Regions from separate parts of the Homo sapiens genome. Here regions 1 and 3 are each linked to region 2. The links are contacts of gene promoters, found by promoter capture Hi-C in human tissues and cell types (Jung and others, 2019). All regions are on one chromosome and are shown on one strand. The core of a region is centred on a gene start or on the middle of the fragment in contact, and the rest is flanking DNA. Distances in the headings are between cores, read along the strand shown.

Evidence for each region. Contacts are between HindIII fragments. The study calls those that stand out against the background at their distance.
Region 1: a contact is called between a fragment that was not itself captured here and the fragment with the promoter of MRPL42 in region 2, in 1 of the 25 tissues and cell types used here (heart left ventricle).
Region 3: a contact is called between a fragment that was not itself captured here and the fragment with the promoter of MRPL42 in region 2, in 1 of the 25 tissues and cell types used here (dorsolateral prefrontal cortex).

The regions. Positions count from the first base shown.
Region 1 is chr12:92,845,917-92,849,602 of GRCh38, forward strand. All of the region lies in intron 9 of EEA1 (early endosome antigen 1), which reads right to left. Among named protein-coding and RNA genes, the nearest start is that of EEA1, 82 kb to the right of the region's middle. The HindIII fragment of the contact is 4,086 bases long and covers 80-3,686 here.
Region 2 is chr12:93,465,846-93,469,366 of GRCh38, forward strand. It overlaps MRPL42 (mitochondrial ribosomal protein L42), which reads left to right and starts at 1,669. Exons shown (of 6, transcript NM_014050.4): 1 at 1,669-1,709; 2 at 3,347-3,510. The coding sequence starts at 3,441. RefSeq lists enhancers at 1,501-1,560, 1,621-1,890. The HindIII fragment of the contact is 7,004 bases long and covers 1-3,521 here.
Region 3 is chr12:92,862,642-92,865,934 of GRCh38, forward strand. It overlaps EEA1 (early endosome antigen 1), which reads right to left. Exons shown (of 29, transcript NM_003566.4): 3 at 2,219-2,346. Among named protein-coding and RNA genes, the nearest start is that of EEA1, 65 kb to the right of the region's middle. The HindIII fragment of the contact is 8,401 bases long and covers 1-3,293 here.

The DNA.
Region 1 (3,686 bases), core at 873-3,372, 620 kb before region 2:
AAACAATATATTAGATCCTATAAAAAGTTTGCACTTCCTTGGTTTTCTGAAATGTTATTGAATTCAATACTGAATTTTTACTAAAAAACTTTACAAAATAAGGAAAGATATTTCAAGCAAACATCCTGCTGGTGCATTAGAATTAAAATTATTGTTTTAATATGCTACAACTATAAGTAAATAATCATTTTAAAATGGTTGAAGCTATGCATGATTAGCAAAACAAAAATGAGCATGTCTTCAAAGCTCTAAGATTGCCTTAAAACATAAAATTGCCATATAACAATTGAAGGTGACACATTAAGGGTATTATTAATATTAAAAAGCCTCCCAAAATCACATTACCTCAAGTTTAAGCATCTCCATTAGAAAGCAGAAAAAGTAATAACAAAATGGTGGATGAAAGGTGGCAGACAAGACTGACAAAAGTACACACTGAGCACATAATTAAAATGACCAAACATGCCTACACATCTAGTCTCTTAAAGAAGCATACTTTAAAAGATATTTAAATACTTTCATAGCTATGCATGGGTATAATCATACTTATTCCATATCTACATGAACATTTTAGCACTTAAAACTGGGATTCAATGAGTTTATTTGGAAAAAAGTAAAATTCTTTAAAAATCATTTCCATTAAATACTACACCAAATATAAGTTGATTACAGCTTAGATATTTTCAATAATGTAGATTTGTATAAATATACTTTTTAACCTTTAAATCCTCAATTTCCAATCCATAAAACAGCCAATTATCTATAAAGAATTTTCAAATGCTTTAGAATGAGATATTTTCTATATGCCTTCAAAAATACCCAGGCAAAAAGAAGTCAATGAATTCATAAGGTATGCATTCAATGAAAATAATAAACACAAGGACATACATAGTTAATAATGTACACCAGATTATGTATCTTCAGCCCCAACTAGGTATACTAGTCAAATAAACATTTATTTGAGCTAAATGTTAAAACACATATTCCTAAAATTGCCATTAATTTTGTTTGAAATAAATGTTTACTTGAGATTTTAATTTTTTTTCTTTTTTTGAGACAGAGTCTCACTCTGCTGCCCAGGTTCGAAGTACAGTGACATGATCTTGGCTCACTGCAACCTCCACCTCCCGGGTTCAAGGGATTCTCCTGCCTCAGCCTCCCAAGTAGCTGGGATTACAGGCATGCGCCACCACACACCCGGCTAATTTTTTGTATTTTTAGTAGAGACAGGGTTTCACTGTGTTGGTCATGCTAGTCTTGTACTCCTGACCTCAGGTGATCCACCGCCTGGGCCTCCCAACGTGCTGGGATTACAGGTGTGAGCCACTGCACCTGGCCCTTAAAAATAAATTTTTAGCTTCTTTAATTCCTTTGTATGTGTTTTGTTTCTGATGCCAATATTTAGGTTTGGTAAAAACAGCAACATCCATAATAAAAATTGTTGTATTAAGTCCTATAATTCACTAACATACTTAATTGAAAATAACTAGAATTGAATTTTAATAAATTAATAAAACGTCATATATTCAGATTAAGGAAAAGCTAAAAAACAAATGCAGTTATAAACAAATAAATGAGATGAAGTAATTAGTAATTTTTTTCATATGGAAATGGTATGACACAACTCAAAAGTATTTTAAGCTATTACCCAATACAAATATTACAACACACAATATGGCAAAATTAGAAAAGTAATTAACAATAAGTTTTAGGACAAGATTAATAGCACAAATTTACTTAAAAGGCAATCATCAGACCACCTAAATTAGGAGACAACATAATAAAAAGGGAATGACACAGGCTTTGGACAAAACCTGAGTTCCAACCCTAGCTTTTATATTAGGTGTGACCTTGAACAATTTACTTAATCTCATTGCCTCTCAGATTCCTCACATGTAAAACATACTTAATAGTTAACTTACAGGGTTATAAGAAACAAATGCGACCACGTTTTAAGTGCCTAACATAGTATCCAAAACCTACTGGTGCTCAAAAGAGTAAGAGTTTGTTTCTAATAATAATATTATTCTGACTCTTAAGTTACCATTTCCTAAAGTTATTCAAAATATTTTAACATAGCCAAGGTCTCATTCATCACTACATATCTATTAATTAAATAGGTAATAAGTATTATTATTTTATTAAAAATATAATGAAATATTAAATCACCTATTCAGTTACTCAGCACAAATAAGTTCCTTTCTAAATTTATTTCCAAATACTTGAAAAGATAAATTTTTATGAAAATTTAAATGAAAACACGAAGAACTGATTTCTAAGCCATTTTCCTTCTTTCCTAGAAATACCTTTTCTAGAAAAAAAAAAAAAATCACCATTTCTTACAAAGCCCTGTTTGCAGGAGGAGACGATGGAGGGAGACACTAAATTCTTTCACCTCCCTATCTTTCATAACTCTAGTCATAGAATGGGTGTGGTGACTCACATCTTTAATACCAACACTTTGGGAAACTAAGGCAGAAGGATCTGCTTGAGGCCAGGAGGTCAAGACCAGCCTAAGCAACATAGCAAGACCCCATCTCTACCAAAAATAATTTGTTAAATAAAGAAAAACAAAAAAACTCTAATCATAGCTTTTTCATCTTAAATGACTTATTCTCCTTAGATATAAAGGTATTTTAATCTACAATAGAAATATAAATTCATAAAACACTAAAAATTCTTAAATAAGAATTTATTAGAGTAACTCTTAAATATTACTTAGAAATGAGTAATTCTTAAATTAGAGTAACTCCTAAATGTTACTTAGAAATGTCTTCCCATTAGCAAGTTATATTATATTCTCACCTTTTTTTTTTTTTTTTTTTTTTTTTTTTGAAACAGGGTCTGCCTCTATCGCCCAGGCTAGAGTGCAGTGGTGTGATCATGGCTCACTGCAGCCTCAACCTTTTGGGCTCAAGCAATCCTCTCACCTCAGCTTCCCACCTAGCTGGGAGTACAGGTACGTGCCAGCACGTCTGGCTAACTTTCTATAGAGACAGGATTTCACCATGTTGCCCAGGCTGGTTAAACTCCTGGACTGAAGCAATCTGCCTGCCTCAGCTGCCAAAGTCCTGGGATTATAGAGGTGAGCCACCATACTCAGCCTGTATTTTTTTTAAATGCAAGTAAACATGTAAATTTATTTTCCTTGTTAATGTTCTATTTGTTTAAAAAGTATATGCATAACTCCAAAACTTGCAGCTGGAATAAGTCAGAGAGGACTCAACTTTAAAATACATATTCCTAAAACTGACATTAATTTGGTTCTGTTTTAGTCACCATAATACATTTATTTTAAAATTTCAAATAGCATTTAAGATATTTTTTAATCAAAAGGGAGTGTATTTTTTTTTAATTTGAGAAATACCAATAGGCAGACATATCTAAACAAAAATAGTTCTTACTGATACAAAGAAATAAATGACTGGGTTCACCCTGGTTTAGGTATTTTGACATTAACATCTGAATAGCACTTTTCCTCATGAGACTTCTTTGATTCAGCCTCTCCTTGATTTCACATTTGTACTTATAGATTTATCATTGTCTTCTGCTGATTAATAATACCAGTAGGACAAGAGCTTTTAACTGGCTTCAGTAAGTTCATGAACCACCTGAAATTGTTTGAAAATTTTTGGAATTAAGTGTTATTGGGCTACAAAGTGTCAATTTTGGAAAAACTGCATCCA
Region 2 (3,521 bases), core at 419-2,918:
TTACTTTCAATACTAGTCACTTCAGGAATATGGTTCTTAACTTGTTGAGGGGTTTATCAATTCCCTGGAATACATAATAAAAGCTATAGATTATTTCTTAGAAAAATATACAAAAGCAAAATTTTGCAAATCATGGGAGAAGGGAATTTCCAGGCGACCGCTTCTGCTTTACCAGCCAATCATCTACTGTCTTGGATACTTGCAGCGTTATCTAGTCTTTTCATTCATTCAGCAAACACTTCCTGGAGACCTATAATGAGACCAAGCACAGTCTGAGATGCTGGGTTTGCATACAGTGAAGAACAAGATAGACATATGTCTCTGTCTTCAAGGAGCTTACATTATCCAGCATAAGAGACATTAAACGAGGTTGGGTGTGGTGGCTCACGCCTGTAATCCAGCCCTTTGAGAGGCCGAGGTGGGCATATCACCTGAGGTAAGGAGTTCGAGATCAGCCGGGCAAACATGGCGAAACCCCATCTCTACTAAAAATACAGAAATTAGCTGGGCGTGGTGGTGGCCACCTGTAATCCCAGCTAATTAGGAAGCTGAGGCAGGAGAATCGCTTGAAGCTGAGAGGCGGAGGTTGCAGTGAGCTGAGATCATGCCACTGCACTCCGGCCTGGGCGATAGAGCAAGACTCCGTCTCAAAAAAAAAAAAAAAAAGAAAGAGACATTCAACGAGCAAACAAATAATCAATATAAAGTCAGGTAATGGTAAATATTCTGAAGGAAAATAAAGCGGGGCATGGAATAAGGGTGGGTGAGGCTATTTTAATGGTGTGGTCCTTTCTAAGATGATATTTGAGAAAGACCTGTAAGGTCATGAGAAGAGGTCAGAGAAGCACATTGCTGGCAATGGGAACAGAGAGTGCAAAGGCCCAGAGGTCTTTCCTTCCTCCTAAGATGGAAAGCGAGGTCCAAGATTCTGCATATTTACTTCCTCCCATAATAGGTAGCCAGCACAGTTCTGAGGGCACAGTGCCAGGTTTTCAGAGTGGAGGTTCTCTTCAGGTTCTGATTTCAAACGTCCAAATCCTAGCCTCCACATTTCAGGGCTTCTCTGGAATGTCTCTTCCCCTGGGAAACTTTAACTCATCTACTAAAGAGCAATCTACGATTTCTCTGAATATTAACATAATTTTTTTAAAAAGTACTTATAGGTTTGCATGGTGGCTCATGCCTGTAATTCCAGCACTTTGGGACGCCGAGGCAGGAGGATTGCTTGAGACAAGCCTGGGCAACATACCGAGACCTCGTCTCTACAAAAATATTAAAAAATTAGCTGGGTGTGGTGGTGTGCGCCTGTAGTACCAGCTACTCAGGAGGCTGAGGTGGGAGGCTCTCTTGGGCCCAGGAGGTAGAGGCTGCAGTGAGCCGTGAGGGAGCCATTGCACTCCAGTCTGGGTGACAGAATGAGACTGCCTCACAAAAAAAAAAAAAAAAAAAAGCTTGTTACTTTCTAAGGGTATGTGTTTGGGGCAGTGATTTTGTTTTTCTGGGCACCTTAGTAACACTGCGGCCACGCTTCCCCAACTAAAGGTAAAAGTCCATAGCAACAATCCTCCCTTTCTCTCTGCACCCGGGCCGCTTTCCCGCGGAGACTACATTTCCCAGAATGCCCCGCGGGCTGGGACGGCGCGCGCAGCGCTGTTTCGTGGGACCAGGATTGAAACAAGATGGCGGGTTCGTGGTGAGAAGCCGTCAAGGTAACCGCTTCCCTCTACTCCTCCTGTCGAGGACTTCCTCGAAACTGGGCAGTCCCACAGTGTTGGTCGGCAGTTGTAGAGGTCTCCCGCCTGTCGTTCCCGGCAGGGCGAGGTTGCCTGCATCCCCAGCCTTTGTCCTTCCTGCAGAAGAGCCGGCATGTGGCTGCGCGTTTCTTATAGCGCCCCCTTTGTTCCCTGGCGGACGCCCGTGGGGAGGTGATGCAGCTTGTGGCTCTAGGGACTCCTTTAGGTCGAAGAGTTCTGGTGCTCTTGGTAGCCTGTTCCTCAAACCTCTGACCCTCAGAGGCTCTGTAGCTTTTGTTTTGGGGTTGAATTCCGGGCTGAGGGACTTGATCTCTGAAATGATCTTCCTGGGGTGAATAATCTGACTCCCAGCAGGGCGTGCTTTTCTCTGGGCTTCGGACAGAGGGGACCTAATTTCCCCCAAGATGTTTTATTCGTGGTCAGAAGTCATGGGTTTACGTCCCACGCATGTATTAAGCAGCGATATACTGAGCAAGTAATCGATTGACCTCTCTGAGCCTTTGTTCTTAATCTGAAATGGAGATGCTGCTTCACACACTTGTGAAAGTCAGAGCACATATTGTATATGAAAGTGGGTTGTAAACTAAAAAGCACACCTATGAGCTCAGGGTTAACGGTGTTAATGTACTGGCAGTGCAAGGTATCAGTGTGAGTGGTTTAGACTAGCAAATAAGAGGGCCTGTGTCCTAATTCTCTTTTATCACTATTGGGGGGAAGGGCACGGATACTCATTGAAGACTATTAAAAACAAGATTTAACAATGGTTATTTGTCATTTATTCACAACAGGCCATGAAGATTGTGGTTTTCCCCATTTTGTCATTGGAGAAACTGAGGATCGTTTAGTTAATGACTTGTTTAAAGTTTCCCAATTTGGCAGTGACTGACTCTAAAGTCCTTGGAAGCAAGACGTTTAAATTTTGTACTTTAGTTTCTTCATGAATCAGAATAAAGATACCTCACATGATTAATACGAGAGCAAAATGAAATGGTGGTGAAAGTACGTTGGAAAGTTAAAGACTTTGTACACATATAAGATGGTGAAATTTTATCTGGGACTTGAGGGCATTTATGAGTTCCTCCAATTGAGTAATAGGCTAAGGATAGGCCTTGTTTGATATTTCTTTATTATTATTATTATTATTAATGGCTCAGGGCAGACAACTATTTCATTTAATCAGAAACAGGATAGTACTGTAAATGATGTAGTATCTTGTGTATGGAACCTTGGAGGGTGTACACAGCCACACTAGCATTAAAAGAATGAATACTCTGTGTACCATTTGTGAGTGACTGTTTCAAGAGTAATTACACATTTACTGAGTATTCATTAAGTGGAAGGAGCTGCACTGGGTCCTGCAGAGAAGTTTGTATCTAAGATAAATAGTAATGGACATAGTTCCAGTGGTTCTGATCTTATATTCTGTCCATGTCGCTCTTCGTCCTGTTGTTCAATCATGTGGAATTGCCAAGTTGTTTAAAAGCATTGCTTCAGTTGACTTCTAGGCAGTGATTCTTACCTTGTTCTTGTGGTGTTTAATATAACTTAAATTTACCATAGGTAGCACTGATTTTTCTTTATCTCTTCAGCAGGAGTAGAAATTGGTATGCTTAGAAGCAGATTCTAAAAGCAGTTTCTCTTCAGAACATCTTTTTTCATACCACTTGATAAGCATCTTGAAACACCATGGCTGTAGCTGCAGTAAAATGGGTGATGTCAAAGAGAACTATCTTGAAACATTTATTTCCAGTCCAAAGTAAGTGAAAT
Region 3 (3,293 bases), core at 465-2,964, 600 kb before region 2:
TACAAGACTAAAGATAGAGAGCCAACTATAAATATGAAAAAACATTTCTGAGTGAGATTTAAGGCCTAAAATAAACTATAACAGTAAAAATGTAAAAGAATATATGCTGTTAAGGAAACAGAATTAACTAAACTTTATGATAAATCAGATGCGGGTAGGAGGAGCAGATGTGTAAAAATGATCACACCTACTTTCCTGGCTTTACTAACTGGGTGGACAGATAATGACACCATTCTCCAGAAGAAGTAATAGTAGACAAGCAGTAGGTTTAGAAGAAAACAGAAAAAACTCTGTTTTCAAAATGTCAATGATGAGGTGCCTCCAGAACATCTGAGGGAAGATACCTAATAGGCAAGTTGGGAGATAATTCTAGGTTGGAGATATGGTTTAGGAGGAAGTTATGGATGTAGATATTACCCTAGGTAGATCATACAGAGAAAGAGCAGCATACAAAACAGATCAAGAAAAAATTATCACAATGGTATGTCATCTCAGAAGAGTAGAAGGAAGGAGAACTGGCACAGCCAAATTTTGCAGTGGTTGTTGCAGATACTCTACAGAGATGACTACAATCAAGTTCTTCCTTTCCTATACTAATCCACTAAAAGACAAAGTTTATCTTCAGGCCTCATGAATCTGACTTGGCACTATGACTACTTTATCCAATAGAATGGCAGAAGTGATGCTCTGACACTTTTGAATCAAGCCTAAAGAAGATTGGCAGCTTCTGCTTCTTTCCTCTTGGAACATACTACCTTAGAACGAACTACCAGCTTTTGAGGAAGTCCAAGCAGCCACATAAAGAGGCCCACATGAAAGAGAATTGAAGCCTTTGGCATAAAGCCCCAGATGAGCTCCCAGCTGGCATCCAACACAGACTTCCAGCCATGAATGTGAGGCCATTTTGAACCTTCTGGTCTTCCTACAACCCCAGTCTCCCTCACTTAAAGCAAAAGAATCATGCAGTCAATTCAAAGAATCATGAGAATTCATAAACTGTTATAGTTTTAAACCACTATGTTCTTTGGGTAGATTGTCAGACAGTAATAGATAATCAAAACAGAGGTCAAGCAAAATAAGAACTGAAAATAATCCAGGTTACTGTTGGTCTTCAGAGCCATAGCCAGAGAATGGTAGGGCAGAAGTCAGGCTTCAATTAACTAAAACACTAAATGAAAAGTTAAGAAGAACAAGGGTAGACCGTGGATGCTTTTATGTTAAAAGTTCATATACTGGACACAGTCTAATTCATAGTTGAAACACAACTCTATTAAATTGATATTAAATATAAGAACATTTATAATATAATTTAACTACATGTTTTTAATGTATTTCCTAACAAATGACAAAAGAATAGTAGCCAAAATTATTAATTCACACATAAAAATACCCGAGAGCATTAGCAGTCATATTAAAAAGGAAGATCCATTCTTCCCAAAAGCACTGGTTTTCCCACATATTTTAATACAGTAAAATGGCCATGTTTTATAGATCTACATTATCTATCAACCACAAAGTTTATATGGTTATCATATTTTCCTTTATGTAGTATTCTTTGTGTTACAGCAGATTAATCAACCAGTAAGTTTTTTTTTAGGAAAGCATAAAAATACTTTTTTACAAGTACAATGAAGTGAAACTTTTATGCCCTCAGTGGGGATAAAAGACAAGAGTTCTCTCCAATAGCAGAAGAAATGCAAAGTTATACCATTGAATGCTATTCTAAGTAGTTATATTTTAGTTTACTTTTACTTCTTAAAATGGCCAAGAAAAATTACCAGGAAACACAATGTGTACGTATGCTTATTGCTATACTGGTGATTATAAATGGAAATTTTTAAATTTTAAATTAAAAATTAAATTTTAATTGTTGGCTAAATTTATTATTTTAACAACTTACTATAAAGTCATCTAAGCAAATCGTATCATCTTATATTACACACAATATGCTAAATATAATTTAATCTTCTTTTGCTAACTCACAATCTTCATTAAAAACATAACCTATGTACCGTATTGTACTTGCTGGCATAGATAGTTACTGGTCAAGGATTGAATAGTTTTTAACAATAGTGGAGGAAGGATATGCTAAATGATGACAGATTTAAATTAAATAATACAAAAAGGTTACTATTTTCATAAGCTAATTAATCATGATTAAACGACGATACCACATGCATATTCCATAACATTATACTTCAAAATTATCATACCGTACCGCTTCAAAGCAAGATTAGACTCTCCTCCATGACCTGAGTCATTACCAGCATCATGAACAGCTTCATAATGTTTGAAAAGTTCATCAGCAGATCCAAGAGATTTCATACACTGGGGACATATGAAACCCTATAGAAAGGGGCAGAAAAAAGTTTCAAAATAGTATTTAATATTGTGAAATAACAATTTGCATATTATTAAATATCACCAAATGTCTGAATCATACCAATGGTGCCATTAGGTAAATTTTATCTTATGGTATTAATCCCAAATTCTAGTATCATGCAAAGATACTTCATTGTCTATTCTAGTTGAAGTTTACAAAATACAAAGAAAGCCCTTGCAACCATCTTTTATTTTTAGGTCAGATAAATTAATAGCTGGAGTACCCAAGTCTAATCTGAAAAGTTAGTTCTAATATAGATTAGTTGAGAAGATTTGCCATCATATCCTTCCTTTCTCTAGCTATCCTCATTAGTAAAATAATATCTGTTCCAATCTACTTCATAGGAATGCTATGAAAAAAAAAAAAAGAAGATGAACCACTGAGGGGGAAAAAAAGTAATTCATAATCACCACAGAGTTTGGATATCTACAATGATAACAAGTTTTCTAGTCAGTAAATGTCCTTGCTAACCTACAGCTAACACAGTAAAGGCCTAAAATTAATGTGTAGCCCCATAAAATATAAAAAACAAACATAACTACATAACTAATCTCAAAATTATTATATGGTTAAAACTACCAACTAGAGTACTATGTTAAAGATGCTGATAAAGATCCATGTTTTACAAATTTTAGGTTGCAATTCATTAATGAATTATGAAATCAACTTACTGGGTTGCAACTTTTATTTTTTTATTTTATTTTATTTTATTTTATTTTATTTTATTTTATTTTATTTTGAGAATGAGTCTCGCTCCGTCACCCAGGCTGAAGTGCAATGGTGCAATCTTGGCTCACTGCAAACCTCCACCTCCTGGGTTCAAGCGATTTTCCCTGCCTCAGCCTCCCGAGGAGCTGGGATTACAGGCACCCGCCACCACGCCCAGCTAATATTTGTGTGTTTTTAGTAG